Linked DNA regions of Homo sapiens: regions 1, 2, 3, 4, 6 and 7 are each linked to region 5. The links are contacts of gene promoters, found by promoter capture Hi-C in blood cells and fetal thymus (Javierre and others, 2016). All regions are on one chromosome and are shown on one strand. The core of a region is centred on a gene start or on the middle of the fragment in contact, and the rest is flanking DNA. Distances in the headings are between cores, read along the strand shown. Region 1 overlaps LOC124904475 (a long non-coding RNA gene). Region 2 overlaps LOC124904475 (a long non-coding RNA gene). Region 3 overlaps LOC124904475 (a long non-coding RNA gene). Region 4 overlaps LOC124904475 (a long non-coding RNA gene). Region 5 holds the start of B3GALT2 (beta-1,3-galactosyltransferase 2). Region 6 overlaps LOC124904475 (a long non-coding RNA gene). Region 7 overlaps LOC124904475 (a long non-coding RNA gene).

The links. Contacts are between HindIII fragments. The CHiCAGO score rates a contact against its expected background, and 5 or more counts as called.
Region 1: a fragment that was not itself captured here is called in contact with the fragment with the promoter of B3GALT2 in region 5 in 2 of 17 cell types (non-activated CD4 T cells and total CD4 T cells); the score reaches 5.8 in non-activated CD4 T cells.
Region 2: a contact is called between a fragment that was not itself captured here and the fragment with the promoter of B3GALT2 in region 5, in 1 of 17 cell types (non-activated CD4 T cells). The highest score is 5.3, in non-activated CD4 T cells.
Region 3: a fragment that was not itself captured here is called in contact with the fragment with the promoter of B3GALT2 in region 5 in 3 of 17 cell types (naive CD8 T cells, non-activated CD4 T cells and naive CD4 T cells); the score reaches 6.9 in naive CD8 T cells.
Region 4: a fragment that was not itself captured here is called in contact with the fragment with the promoter of B3GALT2 in region 5 in 1 of 17 cell types (naive CD4 T cells); the score reaches 5.2 in naive CD4 T cells.
Region 6: a contact is called between a fragment that was not itself captured here and the fragment with the promoter of B3GALT2 in region 5, in 2 of 17 cell types (non-activated CD4 T cells and total CD4 T cells). The highest score is 7.3, in non-activated CD4 T cells.
Region 7: a contact is called between a fragment that was not itself captured here and the fragment with the promoter of B3GALT2 in region 5, in 1 of 17 cell types (naive CD4 T cells). The highest score is 5.9, in naive CD4 T cells.

Annotation. Positions count from the first base shown.
Region 1 is chr1:194,118,151-194,120,850 of GRCh38, reverse strand. The region is part of intron 5 of LOC124904475 (a long non-coding RNA gene); the gene reads right to left. Among named protein-coding and RNA genes, the nearest start is that of LINC01031, 810 kb to the right of the region's middle. The HindIII fragment of the contact is 1,062 bases long and covers 865-1,926 here.
Region 2 is chr1:194,086,213-194,088,912 of GRCh38, reverse strand. The region is part of intron 5 of LOC124904475 (a long non-coding RNA gene); the gene reads right to left. Among named protein-coding and RNA genes, the nearest start is that of LINC01031, 780 kb to the right of the region's middle. The HindIII fragment of the contact is 189 bases long and covers 1,181-1,369 here.
Region 3 is chr1:194,045,692-194,048,391 of GRCh38, reverse strand. All of the region lies in intron 5 of LOC124904475 (a long non-coding RNA gene), which reads right to left. Among named protein-coding and RNA genes, the nearest start is that of LINC01031, 740 kb to the right of the region's middle. The HindIII fragment of the contact is 1,019 bases long and covers 941-1,959 here.
Region 4 is chr1:193,911,699-193,914,398 of GRCh38, reverse strand. The region is part of intron 5 of LOC124904475 (a long non-coding RNA gene); the gene reads right to left. Among named protein-coding and RNA genes, the nearest start is that of LINC01031, 610 kb to the right of the region's middle. The HindIII fragment of the contact is 1,547 bases long and covers 668-2,214 here.
Region 5 is chr1:193,185,351-193,188,050 of GRCh38, reverse strand. It overlaps B3GALT2 (beta-1,3-galactosyltransferase 2), which reads left to right and starts at 1,438. Exons shown (of 2, transcript NM_003783.3): 1 at 1,438-2,032. The region is part of intron 10 of CDC73 (cell division cycle 73); the gene reads right to left. The HindIII fragment of the contact is 388 bases long and covers 1,330-1,717 here.
Region 6 is chr1:194,169,796-194,172,495 of GRCh38, reverse strand. All of the region lies in intron 7 of LOC124904475 (a long non-coding RNA gene), which reads right to left. All of the region lies in intron 2 of LOC107985242 (a long non-coding RNA gene), which reads left to right. Among named protein-coding and RNA genes, the nearest start is that of LINC01031, 870 kb to the right of the region's middle. The HindIII fragment of the contact is 4,453 bases long and covers 1-2,700 here.
Region 7 is chr1:194,145,451-194,148,150 of GRCh38, reverse strand. All of the region lies in intron 6 of LOC124904475 (a long non-coding RNA gene), which reads right to left. Among named protein-coding and RNA genes, the nearest start is that of LINC01031, 840 kb to the right of the region's middle. The HindIII fragment of the contact is 7,383 bases long and covers 1-2,700 here.

The sequences.
Region 1 (2,700 bases), core at 146-2,645, 930 kb before region 5:
AATAATCTTCGATTCCATGTCCTGCTTTCACACACTGGCATGGTGGTTAGATCTCCAGGGCTCCAGGGGATCCTGCCTTCATAGCTTTGTGGGGCAAAGCCCACACCAGAGCTCTCCAGGGTTGAAGTCTAGTGTCTGTCACTCTCCCAGGCTGGAGTTCCATTTTGGTGGTTGTACAGTTCTGAGGTCTTAGTGGTGAAGCTGTCCTCATGGCTTCACTAGGCATTGCCCTAGTGGGGACTCTGCACCAGCCATGTTCCTGTGGCAGTTCTGTGCCTGGGTCCCAAGACTCTCTGAGACATCATCTGAAATCTAAATGGAGGTAGTCGTGCCTCCACAGCTCTCGCACTCTGCTAATATGCAAGGTTATCACCACATGGACACTGCCAAGGTTTACTACTTGTACTGCCTTTGAGAAGGGCAGCCTAAGCCATGCCTGGGCTAACTTGAGCCACAGCTGGGGTGGCAAGTGCTGCAACACAATTTAGGGAACAGAGACTTGAGGTGGCCCTGAGAAATCAGCCCTGCAGTTCCAGGTGTGCCTTATTCCCCTTCCTTGAAACTGTTTTGCCCTCAAAGCCTTGGCATTCTGAGCCGATGGAAGTGGCAGCCTCAATGATTTAAAAAATGTCCTTGAGGTTATTCTTTCATTGTCTTGATGGATAGCATCTGGCTTCCTTCTGTCCATACTAATCTCCTTATTACACTTTATTTGTCCACACCTTTTGTATTCTCTTCCAAATATGACTTAATTCTTTACATGACTAAGCTGAGAATTTTCCAATTCTTTAAGTTGTGCTTCCTTTTTAGTTATATATTCCATCTTCATTTCATTTCTCTCTTTTTGCAGTTTACTCTAAAGCTTATTTGTAGGTTTAAACCATTTGTATTTTAGAAGTTTCTTTTAATGAAAATGGTGTTGCTTTCATAGAAAAAAAAGATAATTCCTCCATTTCATCATCTCATCCTGGGAAACAAAAATGGCAAGTGCCATTTTCATTCCAAAAATTATAAAATGTTTATACATAATATATTAAATTTAAGAGCATGAGCATCAATAAACTATAAAATAAATGAAGATAGAATTTATCTGAAAAAGGAAAGAAGATAAGTCAATGTGTGGTGTTATAGCATTAAACTAAAGTCAATTACTTGTCAATTTACCTAACACAAGGGATATAACAGATAAATAAAGGCAGGATTTATCAGAAAATTGCTGCAAACTTACAGGATGATCTTCAGAGGATTACTAAAATAGAATCATATCCTGTATTTATTGATGCCATGATTCTCTCCCCATCTTCATCCTGGGAATGAACATGAATAATTCACTAAGTATCACTGCTGTGTGTTTTAAAATATTTTGCTGGTTCAAAATGTTTTAACAACAGCTTCCATGTTCAGGATGCCAGACCTACTGCCATCAGCAAGAAGATAAAACCATTTTTTTAATGAAATCTAAACATTAATATGTATGTGGCTATGGCAGTTACCACCTAAAAATTAGCAAATTAATAGATAATTGTATGTTCTTTGCATTCTCTTAGTAAAAAATTACTAAGCATAAGAGTGCATGTAATTTGGGTAAAATTATTTTCTAGTTAAAGAAGAAAGTTGGATGAGAGTGCCTGATAGAGCTGTAGCAACAAGATTTAATCTTTTAAATGTTTAACAGAAACCTTTTTTATTGTTTAAATCTAGCAGCTTACTTAGACAGATGTGTTTCTTCAATTTTGAGGATAGCAGCTGCTCAAAATCAAAAATAATAGACATGGGTAGTTTTAAATAGCAAACATGAAAGTTGATTTCCCAACCTTACTTTCTGCCAAACAGCTGGGCAGCCATAAGGCATACCAGCCTAACTGGTGGCAATTAATAGCCATGTGTATTCAAGTTAGTACTGAACCCAGTACAGGTTCAGAAGCTTATACCATCCACTGACTGATCACATGCAACTTAAAGATTGCTACAAACATATTATCTTTCAAAATGTAGGTGATAATAGCTTCAATATCTCACTATAGAAAGGAAATATGTACTTTTCAAAAATGTATGCCATATGGGAATACCGATTCTGCCTATGATGATGTGAGCTTCTAAGATCCACCCCACTTACTGATTATAATTCTAAAATTTGGATAAATTACAAAGAAAACAAAAAAAAAAAACAAAAAACCACCTGAGAACCCTGAAAAGTAAACAAAGGCTCATGGGTCATGGAGATAGCCATCTTCACAACCTGGAGAAGCAATCCAGTCACAGGGGCATTTTCTGTTTTTATTTTTGTTTCTTCTTTTCTCTTAGCTTTGCCACATGGGAGGGGGCCAGGTAAGTGCTGGGTAGAGAAGAGTGGGTCCCTGGTTAGGGGTCCACCCCTTGGCCTGTGCCCTCGGACCTAGGTGAGGACGGGCATTTCTGTTCTCGTGCCCAAATCTTCCATTTTCCAAGACGACTCTGGCCCTCCACGCCCCCATCCTGTGCCTATAAATCCCCGGTGCCCTAGTGGGTAGAAACACGAGTGGGTGGACATTGAGTGAAACACACCAGAGGAACACACAAGCGGCTGGACGTCGAGAGGAACATACCGGTGGAAGGGCACACCGACCGGCACCGGCAGACGCCAGCAGGCCATCCACCAGCTGAATGATGCGGAGTTTAGCTGGGGCCGGTCGGACGGAGGAGAACCTAGCCGCGGGGCAG
Region 2 (2,700 bases), core at 26-2,525, 900 kb before region 5:
ATAGATAGATAGATAGATAGATAGATAGATAATTTCAATGTGTGCAGACACTAAAAATTGTCTATCACACTACAAAGTACATGACTTTTCCCATTGTTATTTGATTAGCAAAGAATCTTGACACTATTTTGAAAATGTCAACAGCCTTTTAATATTTCAACAGTAGATTTTTTTTAAAAAGCGAATTCTTTGACATCATCAATATACACCTAATTGTTAAAAACTAGAAGGTCACTGTTTCCACCCAGTTGGATTTTGAATGCAAACAACGTAATTGCTATGCGATTACCTCTGTTTTGTTTGATTTGTCCATTTTAGCATTTTATATTATTTTTGCAGTATGAGTTCATTAGTGTCTTTCTGTACAAGATTAATGGTGGCTTCTATGGTGAAAGTTAAATCAAATAATATAGACAATTTTTTGTTCTCTCCTTTCTTAGACATTTTATAAACTGGGATTGGTGCAATATAAAAAATTAAAAATTAGTCATATTTTAACTATCAATGCACATTTTCTAGAGGTATTATAATGATACTTATATAACCATTTAATATAGTATATTGTACCACCATGAAGAAATAATGACTTCATAACATATTTGCAAATATTTTTTAAAGATGGTTTCTAAGTAGCAGAAATAAATGTAATAATCTTTGTTTTTCTCAATTTGGTTTATAAACTCCCTGAAGCCAATTTATTAATTCCATTGGATTCCAAGAACCATGCGGTAATACTTCCAAGTCTCTATTGCTGTTTGATCATGTCAAAACTAAAGATTAAATATTGCTATAATTATAACAATCTGAATTATCTTTTCAAGGTTAAAATTTGTTTTAAGCAAGATCATTTGCATAAATATATAATAATAAAATACCCTATACTTATTGAATGTATTGTGCACCAGACAGCATTCTAAACTTTGCATTCATTAACTCGTTTAATGATGACAGAGATATAGCATCCTCGTTTTAGAGATGATGAAGCTAAGGTGCAGAAAAATTATATAATTTAGCTAAGCGATCACAACTTGTAAGTAATAGAGCTGGGATGTGAATGTGAAAAGCCTTGTCCCAGAATCCAGATTCTGAGGTACCATGTACATTTATCTCTAATTAAGAGTTTCCATAAGTAAATATAAAAGAGTCTTTATGTAAAAAACATACTTGCATTTTAAAAGCTTGTATTGCACTGCAAGGATCTAGATTTAGTAATATTAAGTACTGACATCTGCTACTGTGCAAAAAGTAAGACAAGTTTGTGTGGTCAGACTTGGTGGGAATGCAGGCAGATTTGCGTACTCGTGTGTGTGTGTCCACACACATCCATCCATGTGCCAGTGCACAATAATAGACTGAGTGGAATTAAGCTTGCCCCTGAAAATGAAAAGCAAAAGTCACCTCAGTCAGGTAAAAATGATGCAGAGAGTAGTCACAATCAAAAAGATCAATTCACAATAATAGGCTTGTTCAAACAGTCTGAACTAGGCAACTGAGAATCTGACAGCCAGAATTATGCAGTGATTCAAGGTGCTGGGCAAGAAACAGGACCCTTGAAATGGGATTCAGGACTCAGCACAAGATGGCTGTTGCTAAGGAACCAGGAAAGAAAACTGCAAAGACAAGAAAAAGACACAGGAATGTAGAGCAAGTAAACAGTACCAGAAATAGGGTACAAGGTGGGGACAATCTCTTTGAACTTGGCAGAGGTAAAAAGAAGGTGTGCGATTCAATGCTCAATTATCAATGATGAACTAGAGCATTTTCAATTGCATTTTCAACTTTTTCATAAGTCTGCTGGCTAGGTGAAATAAATTTAAATACACAGATAAATAGTCATCAAAATTATTAATATAAATGTTATGCATCATTTCCTGGGCAGAACAATGTGTGAATCACTTAATCTTCTGACTACCAAGCAACTTCTCAACTTCTCAAAACAACTTTTTCTGTAGGTTATTATTTACCAGAGATAACATAGGTAATAAGAAAATTGTGATTTGGGTCCAGAAATATAGTTTCTCTCATAATGAAAATGAAAGAGAAAGATTTCTGGATAAGGGCACTTTCTTACTAGAGAATAGACTTCCACTGAGGATACTCATTGTATGAGGCAGGAATAGTGTTAGATGTTTTCTGTATTGTATCTAATTTAATTCTAACAATAGCCCTATGGCATAAATATGGGTATACCTTTCCCTCGATTACTCAATGAAACTTGTTTTTCAGGGAATTAATATAATATTGACATACTGTCAACAACACACAAGTATCACCTATCAAGTAGTGTTATCAACACAAAGATGGAACCATAAGAAAGCTGTAGGTCTTCAGAGTTGATTTACCAGAATACTGAACATTTGAATTCAGTTCCCTTTGGCATCTGTTTTTTCTTTGAACAACCTGACTAGTGGTAACAAACAAACTTCAAATTTGAGCATTTTTTTTTACTGTCTCTTCTATAAGAGGTAACTGATAGCTACCTCTAAGTTCTCATATAATTACACTTTCTAAGCAATATTAACCTATAGTTATAACTAAAACAGTAATATCAAAACTAATTTTCTGAAACAATATACAAGATGGAAAAGGTGGTATTTGAGTTGTGTGAAGATTTTTCTAGAATAATGGAAAGAAAAGGGTATTGCTGGCAAAGGAACTGTCACATGTATGTTCAAAGCTGTCTTGAAAAGAGCTATCAGA
Region 3 (2,700 bases), core at 201-2,700, 860 kb before region 5:
TCTGATTTTTACTAGATTTTTATTATGTAATTTAAGAGCCAAATAAGATTATATGTACTATAATAATGAGTTATAAATTGTAATAATAAAATGAACACTTGCTTACCTACTATCCCATTTATAAAGGAGAATTAATACTTTAAACTACCTATGGAATACTTTTATATTCCATCGCTGACTGTTCTACAACCCACATATAATCTCCTAAAGCACATTCCTCTACTTACTCTCTCACCTCCTCCTCCTCTACCTCCTACCTCTTATTGTGGTTCTCCCCCACTCTCCTAGGCTGCCTTCTCCTCTTGTCTCCTAGTATCTCTCTTCCTTCTTCTGTTTTTAACTGTTGATTTTCTCTATCACTATTTTATTTCTTTTTCTGCTCTTGTCATCATTATTTCTTACTTCATTAGCCATAACACTCACATACATATTTCACGCACTTACTTTACCTATAAGAAAATTCAGGGCCGGGAGCGGTGGCTCACGCCTGTAATCCCAGCAATTTGGGAAGCCGAGGCAGGCAGATCATTTGAGATCAGGAGTTCAAGACCAGCCTGGCCAACATGGTGAGACCCTGTCTCTACTAAAAATACAAAAATTAGCCAGGCATGGTGGTGCATGCCTGTAATCCCAGCTACTTGGGAGGCTGAGGCAGGAGAATTGCTTGAACCCGGGAGACAGAGGCTGCAGTGAGTCAAAATCATGCCATTGCACTCCAGCCTGGGTGACAAAGTGAGACTCTGTCTAAAAAAACAAACAAACAAAAAATGCAGAATGCTTGATATTGCAATTTCTATGTGTTTATTTTTACTTTTACTCAAAAGTTGGAATTGGTGTTTGTGAAACTGAAATCGATCCAATAGTCCCACACACAGTTTTTGTTTTGTTTTTATTTTTTATTTTTGTAAACATAGAAGTTGACCTTTCTGGTCATAAAGCTTGACGTTTATATTTGTTTCACCTGAGTTATTTCCTCAAGAAAGGACTCCCACGCCTCTCAAAAAGAGTATCAAGTATCAAAGAACTAAAACTCACTAGATCATTACATCCTGGCAATATGTGGCCAGGCCACTCATTTATCATGGTTGCTTCCTTACCCCTCCTGTTTCTGTTTTCCCACACACAGTTAATTTCTTCCATGCTATATAAACCCTTCATCTTTGTTGGTCAGGGAGATGGATTTGAGACTGATCTTCCATCTCCTCATCTGCAGTACCTGATTAAAGCCTTATTCCTTGGCAATACTCATCTCAGTCATTGGCTTTCTGTGCGGTGAGCAGCAGGACCCAGACTGAACCTTTGGTGTTTGGGTAACATAACATCATCTACTCTCTGCTATGTCTGAATATTTGTGTCATCTTATACTATGTTGAAATTTTAACCTCCAAGGTGATGGTATTAGGAGATACAGCCTTTGGGAAATCATTAGGTCATGAAGGCTCACTAATGGGATTAATTTCCTTATAAAAGGTATGACAGAAAAACTCTTGACCCTTCTTCTATGTAAGGGCACAGGGAGAAATTATCAGTCTGCAACCCAGAACAGAGCCCTCACAACACCCAGTCGTATTTGCACCCTGATCTCAGACTTCCAGCCTCCAGAACTGTGAGAAATAAATTTTTATTGTTTATAAGTCACCCAGCCTATGGCAATTTGTTATAACAGCCCTAAAGAACTAAGACACTCAAGTTGAGTATTTAATAGGTCATAGTGTTTATCCATAAGCCGCAAAAGAATAAAATGGATAAATTATTTTAAGAAATATTATAAGAAATTTATGACTTCTTGTTTTGAATAATACTTGATTTCTTAAACAATTTTTTTTTAAAAAGAGGGAGAAACTGTAACCAATTCATGTCGAAAACTTTTCTAAGTAAAAAGATTTTACAGTTGGACTTTCTTATTGTAAATGTATGCTCAGGTATTTTGAGCCCTCTACTAAATCTGTTTAGTAAGCTTAGGTTACAGTACATTCTCTCAGAACATTCAAATATGCACAGACTGTATGTTATGGTTGTTGTTCAACACTCTTCCATATACAGAATTAGCCTCTCTCATCTTCAGTTTCAACAATACCTTTCTACATTAGTTTAAAAAATGACACCTTATTTTTTGAGCTGAAAGACCTTAGACATAATGGAGTTTTATCTTCTTTCATTCTTTATAAATCTTTTTCAAAAATAAACCTTGGAGAACTCCATAGCATACTATTTTGAGAGTAATAAGGCTATTTTTGTTTGATCAAAAGATAGGAAGTATTCTTCCAACACAATTGCTCATATTGCTTAAATGGATTTCAACCAATTTTTGTCTATTTTGTCTTCTTCAAGTAACCTGACAATCCAGCTTTAGAATTTATACCTCAACTTCAAAACACAGACAATCCATGTCAAGAATTTTAAAATGGGATTTTCTTTCATTTACTGCTTAAGTCTTTTCTCTTCGGAAAGCTAGTGTTGTGCCTTTTACATATTAGAGCATCATAAAATGTTTTGTTCTTGTGTTTTTTATTTAACTCTCTGCTCATAGCCATTCATACCTGACTATAGTCTATTTACTTGGATCTCTTTTCTATGTGCCTGTATTATCTATTTGTTTGCTTTCTTGCTTTTGAGTTGACTTATTGTACTTTAGGATTCAGGAAAGAGAAATGAGAAATGCTGAGAGAATTGGAGTTTTATTATCAGTGGTTCTAGGAA
Region 4 (2,700 bases), core at 192-2,691, 730 kb before region 5:
CTGCTTCATTCAAGAGTGATTGCTTGAAAATCGTCACAAAAGATTCTGAAACAAACACACAATAAATCTTATAGCCAAGCACTTTTTGCAGGCCATGTTAGGGAAAAAAGCAAACATAAAAGGATTCAATATAATAGAATTAAGAAAGAAAAACATACTTTAATAAAAAGTAAACAGTAAATTAAAACATTATTAATATTTAAGTGTGAATGGGGGATGTTTATGTTTTTTATGTTTTTGGCAAAGTACAACAGGTGAGTGAAACTCAGGCAGCTTAATTTTCATAAATTTCCTCAAATATGATTCATTTATTCTTTTAAAATTATGAATTTCAATATACTCTAAAACTTACAGAAATCTGAAGGAGATGATAAAGGACAGGACTAATGTCCAGACCACCTATGATTCCTTTCCCTACCTTCAAGATTCCATCCTCATAGGATCCTTTGGGGGAATATTAGACAATGCTATTTAACCTAAACTTAATTTTGGTGTCTTAACCAACACTGTGTACCCTTTGCTCTGGCCATGGATCTTTTTTTTTATTATCAGATGTCCTTCAGGAAAAGTGACAGAATACCTAACGTAAGCCAGCATATCAATAAATGAAATATAGTATTTCACATGATTGAAAAGTCCCATTACAGAGCTAGCTTTACACAAAGCTTTATTAGCAGCTCAACAGTTGTCATCAGGGCATCCAATTTTTCTTGGATTCTTTTCCTAGTACCCCTATTTTTAGGTCTGCTCTCTGCAAATGGGTGAGAGATTGTTGCAGAGAATTCATATCATTTCAGCTTTATTTCTACAAGAAGTTATGTCTTTCCCAAGAAATAACCAGAGAAACATGGTAGGATTGCTTGTCAGTATGGAAGGTCCATTGGCATTCTGAAATTTACAGAGAAACTGTTAAGACCCATGTTATTATTATTCTCCACCTCATACAATCTTATCCCTACACACTTACCAATGCTGTAAGTAAGATATATAAGATGGCATGACTTTATGACCTGTGTTGTGGATGTAGTTTAGCTTCTTATTAGAATATCTTCATTTGATTCCTTTAGCATGGTATAGAGTAGAATAATTAATATCTTATTGTTATAGGTCTAGCATTGTGATATATGTGAGACATAGACAGAATTTAATCAAACTATTACTCAGATTAGCAAGGAAAATGTAGCAGCTATATTTTTCCATAACTGATCTGATCAGTTATAATCTGATCATCCTTTTTCTCATAATTATTTCCCTTTGGAAGAGAAGAAACTTAAACTTGCCAATTACTAGTATCTCAGCATCTGCACATTTAAAAATTCTATGTTCTAAGTCAGTCTACTCGAAGTTCATCGAATTCTCAGTGCTATTTTAAGTGGCTTGTTTTTTTAAAGTCTTCTTTTCATAAATAACTTTTTTTTCAACTTGCTTTCCTTCTCCCTCACCTTCTCAGACATGGCATCTGAATGTATGCCAGAAGGGTCACTTACATGACCTTGAGTAATGGGAAAAAGTGAGTCTTGAATTTTTGAATTATTGTGTGTCTTCTGGAATCCCAATGGCTGTTGTTAAATTGGTTGCCCTTGTCTAGTTCCAGAAATGGTGACAGTTAATGTACTGTGGTCACACAGTAGGTCATTCACTAGAATGAAGACCACTCTAGTCAAGCCCATAATGGCTGGCATTTGCCTTTAGTCACAAAGTCAAGCAAGGCAGCCTCTTCATACGGACTCCAGCACTGCAGTAGCTGGTCACTGGTGCATGGAGAAATTCTGCCCCTCCTGTCTGACATATGCAGGTCACAGGAAAACCATCTCAGTCTCATCAGTTTCATCTACCTAGACACCACTGCTATATTACCAAACTCAAGATGACAACGGGCATGTTTATGGACTTGTCCTAGTGTATTATATAGGGTACAGTCATCATCCTTTTCTTTCCAATTTTCCCTCAAGCTATGTAATATCTTCACCTTCCATCCCTCATCCAAAGAGGTTTGGCTTAAAGATATATCATGTGGGTCACTTTATCGGCTCCTGCTTCCCTTCAACATTGCTACATTACCCTTGCCTGAATCCACCTGGCTGGAACGAAAAAAGCTCTCAACATATTGTGTCTCTCTAGCAAGGATTTCCATCATATCATATCCACCTTTTTCTTAGGTCATGTTCAGACTTAAGGGTGGTAGGGTCAAACTTTCCATACTGAAAGAAAGCTTATGATCACTCCATCTAGCTCCCTTTAATCAAAAGAGGAAGAAATCCTTTCTTTTTTTCCCCCAAGAAATATATTTCATACACACACACACAAACACACACACACATATATATCTCGCATGCATATACATACATATTCTCATTTAATATTCCTTACTTCCTTTAGGATTACTATTCTAATTTTATACATATGAAGCAGAGTGTTTAATCTTTCCCAAGTTCCCTCACAGTTGACATAAAGCCGGAGTTCTGAAATTCAGCCCAAAGCTATTAATTTCAAAGTTGATACTCTGCTCACTTTAAATTGCAGACTCCTTCAAAGAAACTCCCCAATTTATCCAGTGACTGACTCTTTCTCCAACACCTTTTGGAAGAATAGTTTGAAGATGCCCTAACTAAGAATGAGATTTCGCTCAAGGCACAGAGACGTGGTCGTGTGTAACATCTGCCTTCTTGAGTAAATTTCAATGGGAGGATGCTCGCTTTG
Region 5 (2,700 bases), core at 189-2,688:
ACTTCTGGAAAATAAGTTATTTTAAGTAAGTTCTTAAGCATTACTCTGTTAACTAGTAAACTAATTTTAAAAACAAAACGGTAGTGAGTGAGAATTGCAGTATGGGTGGATATAGACTACAAGGAAGTTGGGTTTTAGTCCTCTCCTTCAAACTTAACTAGGAAAAGTCAAAGCTCAGTCTAGGCTTTAGGTTTCCTATTTATAAAATTCTTTTTTTTCTTTAACGATCCTTCTAACATTTCTAATACAGTGGGGTTCTTAAAACTACAAAGCACATTTCATCAGCAAAGCTCAAAAATATGTGGACAAAATTTTTTTTAATATCAGAGAAAACAAATTCATATTCATTTGAAATAGCATATATTAATGGTGGAGGCAGTGAGATGAAGAATATGTATATAACTGTTAACCTTTAGCTTAAGCTCCAAAACTATAACTTTCTAGGACTGAATTACTGTCCCTAGAGTCACAGAGGAAAAACTGATAATAAAGGCTTTTTACTACAACAAAAAATTTAAAAAAACCTTCCCTACTGCTCTGCAGTAAGAAAAGAAGGTGCCAGCCCCAGAAACTAACCATATTAGAAAAATCTCAGTGAGTGTGTAGTGTTAATAAAATCTGCCTCATGGCAAGTTATTAAATCTTTCTGAAACATTAGAATAAGTAAACATAATTAGTAAAATCTCATTACCCCCAGATCCTGTACAAGTGTGCTATATCTATTACATCATTTTACTGAATTCTACGATACATGTAATTTTAAAGGGAAGGAAAAATAAATAAAAAATAAATGACAACATTAAAAAGTGATTTAAAATAAAGTTTTCTGCCATCAAGAACACCAAAAACCACATAAGAGCAAAAAAGAAGTGGGCTGTATCACATCATGCATTAGTAAAGTAATCCAAGACAGCTTATTTATACAAACCCCAGAAAACGGGGGGGGGGATCTAAATTACAAAGATACATGGTTTCAATAGAAACCATAGGTCTTAACTACATATTAGTAAAAAATCAAGAGCAATTTGAAAGCAGAGAAAAAAAACTTCAAGAAGAGAATGCACTGAAGGGGTTAAATTACACCAACTTACACACAAAAGCTTATACTGCTTACACCCTACAAAAGCATGTAAGAAACATGAAAACCAACATCTAACACAGAAAACACTTAGAAAGCCTGTACTTAAGAATAAAGTTAAAAAAGGAAGTAAGCTGGAAAAAATAAAATCATAACCATTTCATAATCATCACATTTTCAAATTATTCACTCATCACTACACTTGCATTCAACATATATAATTTATCACATAAAAGCAAAATCTCTAAGCTTCTCCCTACCTTAGGTTTTTAGTCAAAATGAATGCAAACAATCACGTGGGATTCAGCCAAGCAGTGACGTTAAATTCTGCTCTGTCAGAGAGAGCATCTGTCAAGCCCACATTTAAACTGCTGCCTGCCTGTGCAGCAGCTGAGGAACCGTGGATTTCATATTATAGACTAAAACCCCATTAAAACTGCTCAAAATCCTTCCTGCAGCTGCCAGGCAACAACGAAAGAAGAGAGGTAAATCCTATTCTTTTCCAATACAACTGAAGCACTACATTTTAGCTCTGGCTGCTTTACATTGCAGCTCAGTGTTATTAGTAGAAATATGGATACTGAGACGAGAACACAGCACTGCATTGTCCAGCCAGGAAAATAGCAGATGTAAAAAGCTTCAATGCATCAACTGTCGGGAAGAGTCAACAGTGCTACAAGCAGAACGGGCAACTACAGCTCTTTTGTTTAACGAAAGAGAGAAAATGAAAGAAAGGGAAAATTTCAGAAGACTAGGACCCATATGAACAAGGAGGGTAACTCGAAGACAAGCAGACAGATGGACACTTTGGATACTGTGAAAAGCAATCGCAGGAGGCAGACTGTTGGGGGATGTGCGCATGTTCGATAGCATCTTTTTTGCTGAAGTGATGGCGTGCCAAAAGTATTTTCAGTGGGCATAATCCTCTTCACATAAATGGCCTGACCAAGGAAGGTATGTCAATATCTTGTGTATGATAGTCATTTAAATGTGTTACCTTTTTATAGCCCTGGAGGCACTAATACCTGATAAGCAAGTTCATACAGCTCACTGCCCTTGAAACTATGAAAAGGTTTCTTAATATCTGATTTTAAAATTTGTCATTGTTTAGAAGACAAGCTGTCACTGCTTTATGCAGCTAAATATGTAGCTTGGAGTAATTCTGGGTAATAGACATCAGAGGGAAAAGGCAAATAAGAAGAAGATGTGTTTAAAGGATTCCTTAAGAAATTAAACTTAAAAAAAAATCTGTAGCCCTTTACAAAAAACACAGCAATATTCTATCAAATTAGGTCAAACTGAATCCTTATCTAGTAAATTAAATGCTCTCTTAAAAATGGCTATCAAAAGACACAATGCAGTGAAATTTCATTAAATAGTAGCAAGGAAAACCTTAAGAGTTTTTTTTTCAAAGTCCTTTTAAAACAAAACCTTAATATGTAACAGCTTTTAGTAACAAAATCTTCCCCAACATCTCCCTAAATGAAGATAATGAACACAACCAAAGAGAGTATCAACAAATTTTAAATATTACCAAGCTACAAGAAGATACTAAAAGGAAAGCATTAACATAAGATCACATAAGGTAGTGTGAGTTTATGCATAACCCCACAATAGAGCCT
Region 6 (2,700 bases), core at 74-2,573, 980 kb before region 5:
AATTGGTAGGATAACCCACACTTAATAAAAGAGACTGTACAGGGGAAAAGCTATGGGATTAGCATATTAAACAAATTCTGTGTGTTTTTTGCTCTCCTGTAAATTTGAAGAGAATAATTTTGACTAGTGGTCCTAAAAATGCAGTCCTTAGGCCTAGCCAGAGGAATAAAGGAAGACAAATAAATAAAAGCTACCACATTATGAAAGAGAAAGTCAAATTATCTTTCTTCCCTGATGACATAATCTTATATCTAGAAAACCCCAAAGACTTCTCCAAAAGACTCTTAGACTTTATAAATGACTTCAGTAAAGTTTCAGGATACGAAAACAATGTACAAAAATCAGTAGCATTTCTATATACCAATAATGTTCAAGCTGAAAACTAAATCAATAACCCAATCACATTTACAATAGACACAACAAAATAACAGTAGCATTACTATATGCCAATAAAGTTCAGACTGAAAACTAAATCAATAATCACATTTACAATAGACACACACGAAAATAAAATACCCAGGAAAACAGTTAACCAAGGAGGCAAAAGATCCCTAGGACAAGAACTACAAATCACTACAATAAATCATAGATGACACAAACAAATGGAAAAATGCCAGGCATGAGGCTCACGCCTGCAATCCCAACACGTTGGAAGGTTGAGGCAGGAGGATCGCTTGATCCCAAGAGTCTGAGACAAGCCTGAGCAACGTACTGACATCCTCTACATAGTGAGATATCTCTATTAAAAATTTTAAAAATTATCCAGGTGTGGTGATACATACCTGTGATTCTAGCTACTCAGGATGCTGAGGTGATTGGAGCATTTGAGCCTGAGAGGTTGAGGCTGCAGTGAGACATGATCATGCCACTGCACTCCAGCCTGGGCAACAGTGTATGACCTTGTTAAAAAAAAAAAAAAAAGAAAGAAAGAAAAGAAAAGGAAAGGAAAGAAAACAGAAAAACATCCCATGTTAATGGATTGGAAGTATAAACATCATTAAAGTGACCACACTGCCAAAAGCAATATGCAGAGATCCAATGCAACTCCTATCAAATTACCAATGTCGTTTTCCACAGAATTAGAAAAATAATTCTAAAATTAATATGGAACCAAAAATGAGCCGGAATAGACAAAGCAAACCTAAGCAAAGAGAGAGCAAAGCTAGAGGTCTCATATTACCTAACTTCAAATTATACCACAAGGCTATGGTAATCAAAATAACATGGGACTTGTACAAAAATAGATGCACTGATCAGAAATGAAGCCACATGCCTACAACCAACAGATCTTTGATAAAGTTGACAAAAATGCACAATGGGAAAAGGACTCCCCCTTCAATAAATGGTGCTGGACAAACTGGCTAATGATATGTCGAAGAAAGAAACTGGATCCCTATAAATCAGCATATACAAAAATTAACTCAAAATTGATTAAAGACTTAAATGTAAGCCCCAAAACTATAAACATTCTAGAAGAGAACCTAGTACAAACTCTTCCGGACATTGGCCTAGGCAAGTAACTTGTGACTAAGGCTTCAAAAGCAAATGCAACTGAAACAAAAAAAATAAACAAATGAGACTTACTTTAACTAAAAACTTCTGCACAGCAAAAGAAATAACCAACAGAGTAAACGACAACCTACAGAATGGGAGAAGATATTTGCAAACTATGCATATGACAAAGGACCAATATCAGAATCTACAGGAACTTAACAACAACAACACACACACAAGAAAATTACTACATTCAAAACTGGGCAAAGAACATGAACAGACAGTTCTCTAAAAAAGACATGCAAGTGGCCCACGAACATATGAAAAAAATCAACACTACTAATTACCAGAGAAATGCAATGCAAATTAAAAACACAGTGAGATACAATCTCACTCTAGTCAGAATGGCTATTATTAAAAAGTCAAAAACAACAGATGTGAAGAAAAGGTAATGTTCATATACTCTTTTTGAGATCATAAATTAGTACAACATCTATGGAAAACAGTATGGAGATTTCACAAAGAACTAGAAATAGAACTATTATTTGACCCAGGAATCCCACTTCTGGGCGTCTACTCAAAGGAAAAGAAATTGTTATACCAAAAAGACATCTGCACTTGCATATTTGTTGCAGCACGATTCACAGCAGTAAAGTCAACCTATGTGTCTAGAAGTGAATGATTAGATTAAAAATGTGGTATATATACACCCTGGAATACTACACAGTTATATAAAAATAATGTCTTTTGCAGCAAAATTGGTGGAGTTGCAGGTTATTATCCTAAGTGAAATAACTCAGAAACAGAAAATAAAAAACTTAATGTTCTCACTTATAAGTGAAAGCTAAACAATGAGTATATATGGACATACAGAAGGAAATAATAGACACTGGGGCTGCCAAAAGGGGGGAAGGTGGTAGGAGGGTCAGGGTTAAAAAAATTACCTATTGGGTAGAATATTTTCTATTTGAGTGATAGATACACTAGAAACCCAAACCCCGCCACTAGGCAATATATCCGTATAACAAACCTGCACATGTATCTCCTGTATCTATAAAAATAAAAAATAAGAAAAAAATGAAAAAATAAAAGTGCTGTCCTCTGGCCAGCAGTATTACTATCACCAGGAAAACACTTAATACCGCCAGATTCTCGGGTGATGTCCTGAATCTACTCCATCAGACACTTTGGGGTAGGGTCCAGTGT
Region 7 (2,700 bases), core at 110-2,609, 960 kb before region 5:
ATAAAACCAGATTCCATTTTACCTCTAGAATCAAGTGGTTTTATAATGTAATAATATTTCACTCTAGACTTTCTTTTTTTAAAAAGGGTGGTTACTGAAAGAATGAATTATGTCCTACATCAGCAGTAACAGTGGATATGATAACAGTTAGGTCCCCATTGCAAACACAGTGTGGCAATATTTAAGCATCTAATTGCATTTAAGGATCTCATTCATGAAACACAGGCTCTTCAGGCAGGAATGTTCAGACCATTTTTTATTAAGTATTTGCTGTATGTTGGGAATGTGTCAGGCACTTTTTCTAAGCATTTGGAGTAAACAATACAAGATTTCTATCCTGTTGGAACTTACAGGACAGGGTGGGAGGCAAAAATAAATACTAGAAAAAAATATGTATCTAATATCATATGGCAGTAAATGCTATGGAAGAAAATACCAAGAACAAATACAAACAAACAGGAAATTCTGTTTTCAGCACATACTTCACATTACTGATTTTTCTTAAAGAAGATGATGATTAGAAGTAATGTGAACTAAGAGGAATGTACTGTATGTTAAAATGCTTTCATATCCAATCTTAGTATTATGATTATCATTATTGAAAAGTAAGTGTTCAGTGACAGTTGGAAAAGTATGTGAGATTTTATTTGAAAGATAAATAGAAATTTTTAGGCAGAATGAGAAGAAAGGAGGACATTTTTGTTGAGCTAAAGCAAAAACTAACAGTGTAAAGTATATTCAAGGAATTATGAGTAGACATTCTATATATATACAAAATGGGAGCTAAGACTGGAATGGTATGATAGATTAATAGATTACTTAAGTGAATTTGGGAACAAAAGGACAAATACGTAGAACAACTAAAATTCATAGGTATAAATATAAAATTATTTACTGAAAACTTACAAATATAACCCATTTATTTTTCACTGAACAAATATTCATTGAATGCCTAACATATGTCAGAATCTGGGTATATAATATGGGCTAGGTATATATCCTCTCAGATTCATGGTACACACATAACTTAGACATATGTGACCCTATTTTACAAAGAAAAAGTGTCTTATATATACACTGGACTTACTAGAAAAAAATCTCAGGACTGTAAGTGGATAAGCATGGATTTGGATGTTGGCAGGTGAATGCCAGTCTCCACCTGCAACCAAAATTGTTACATATTGTCTCCAAGTGTGGCCTCTTTATCAAAAATTGATAACGTCCCTGTGTAAAAATGAATATTTCCTCATCTTTATTTTTCTCCCCTGAGATATGTTTTGTCATTTAGTGAACCCATCTAACTTGCATGCATCATTTTCATATTTTTCTAATTGTGGAAGCCTTTTGCTGGCTGCAGTGGATCACAGATTGTTTTCTCTGCTTTGCTTAGTGATAATTTATTTTGATAAAAAACAAATTTATCTTACCTCAATAATAAGGAGGAGGTCCTCCTTGCTGATGCCTCTCACTCTTGAATTCTTTAATATCCAACTATTTTCATTACACATTTCAGTCTGGACTGCATATTAAGTATTTTGTTGTTTATGTTCTGTTGGAAATGTATCATTCCACTTTAAACATTCCTTCCTCAGTGGTATCTTCTGGTCTAACACTTTCAGGTGCCCCTCTGTTTGCTGAAGTCAGAATTAAAAATATTTTTCTTGTGGGTTCCTGCAGCTGATATCTTTATTTATGTGTTGGTCACATACGTCTAAATATGGTAAGCAGAATGATACTTTCATTCTGATCAATTTTCTTGAATGATGTTTCCATATATTTACTCATGATTTGTAGCTAACTCAGACAAAACTAATATAAAACATCGGCACTGATTTTGGCATAATAAGTAATTATTTGCCATTGAGTAATAAAAACAAATGGTTTATAAACAGCAGAAGGACTTTATACATAACCTTTCTTTAAATGGTAAAATAGCATCAGCTGTCAAATTCAAGCAATGCATACTGAAAATAGAAGTAACCAAAGGAATCATAATTGTGTTTCAAGCCTGTTATAATTTACTGGTTTAAATTGAATAGCAGATATTTAAAATTTAAGAAAATGTATTTTATTTATTTCCCCCAAAGTTAAACTTATTTCATAGGCCTGGAACAAAATATCTTACCATTCAATAAGTTAGAATAGTATTTGATAATTTCAAAGTGTTGTTAAATTGAGGAGGTAGTATTATTCATTTTGAACATGAAGACTCTCTTCATTTAATATTAGCTTTACTTTAACTCCATTCTGGTACATGATAAGATAAAAATACATTTATAACTTGAAATCTCACATAATGAAAATATTACTTTCAGAAACAAGCGCTGTTTGGATGTAAAACATGTTTAGTAGGGAGGAAAGGCCTCTTTGAAAGCTACTCTTAGTTTATGTTATTGAACTGAAGAATTTCCAGATGAAGGGCAAGAGCACAGCCTTAAAACTCCAGAAATGTCAATTTCCATAACAGCAAATAATTTGCCTTTTCAAGTCACAAGACTGCAATTAATCATGTGAGACATCAAAAAAGAAAATTGAGGCTGTTTTTAATGATGCATCCTTGTGTGAAAAAAAGGTAATAGTTCTGCATTACCCCAGTGATTAATTGAGGTACTAATTTAGATTGCATGTCATATGAGTATACAGTTTCTTTGGGGGATGGTGGCATTCAAATAGGGGCACTTATTTATAAGAATGCTGTAA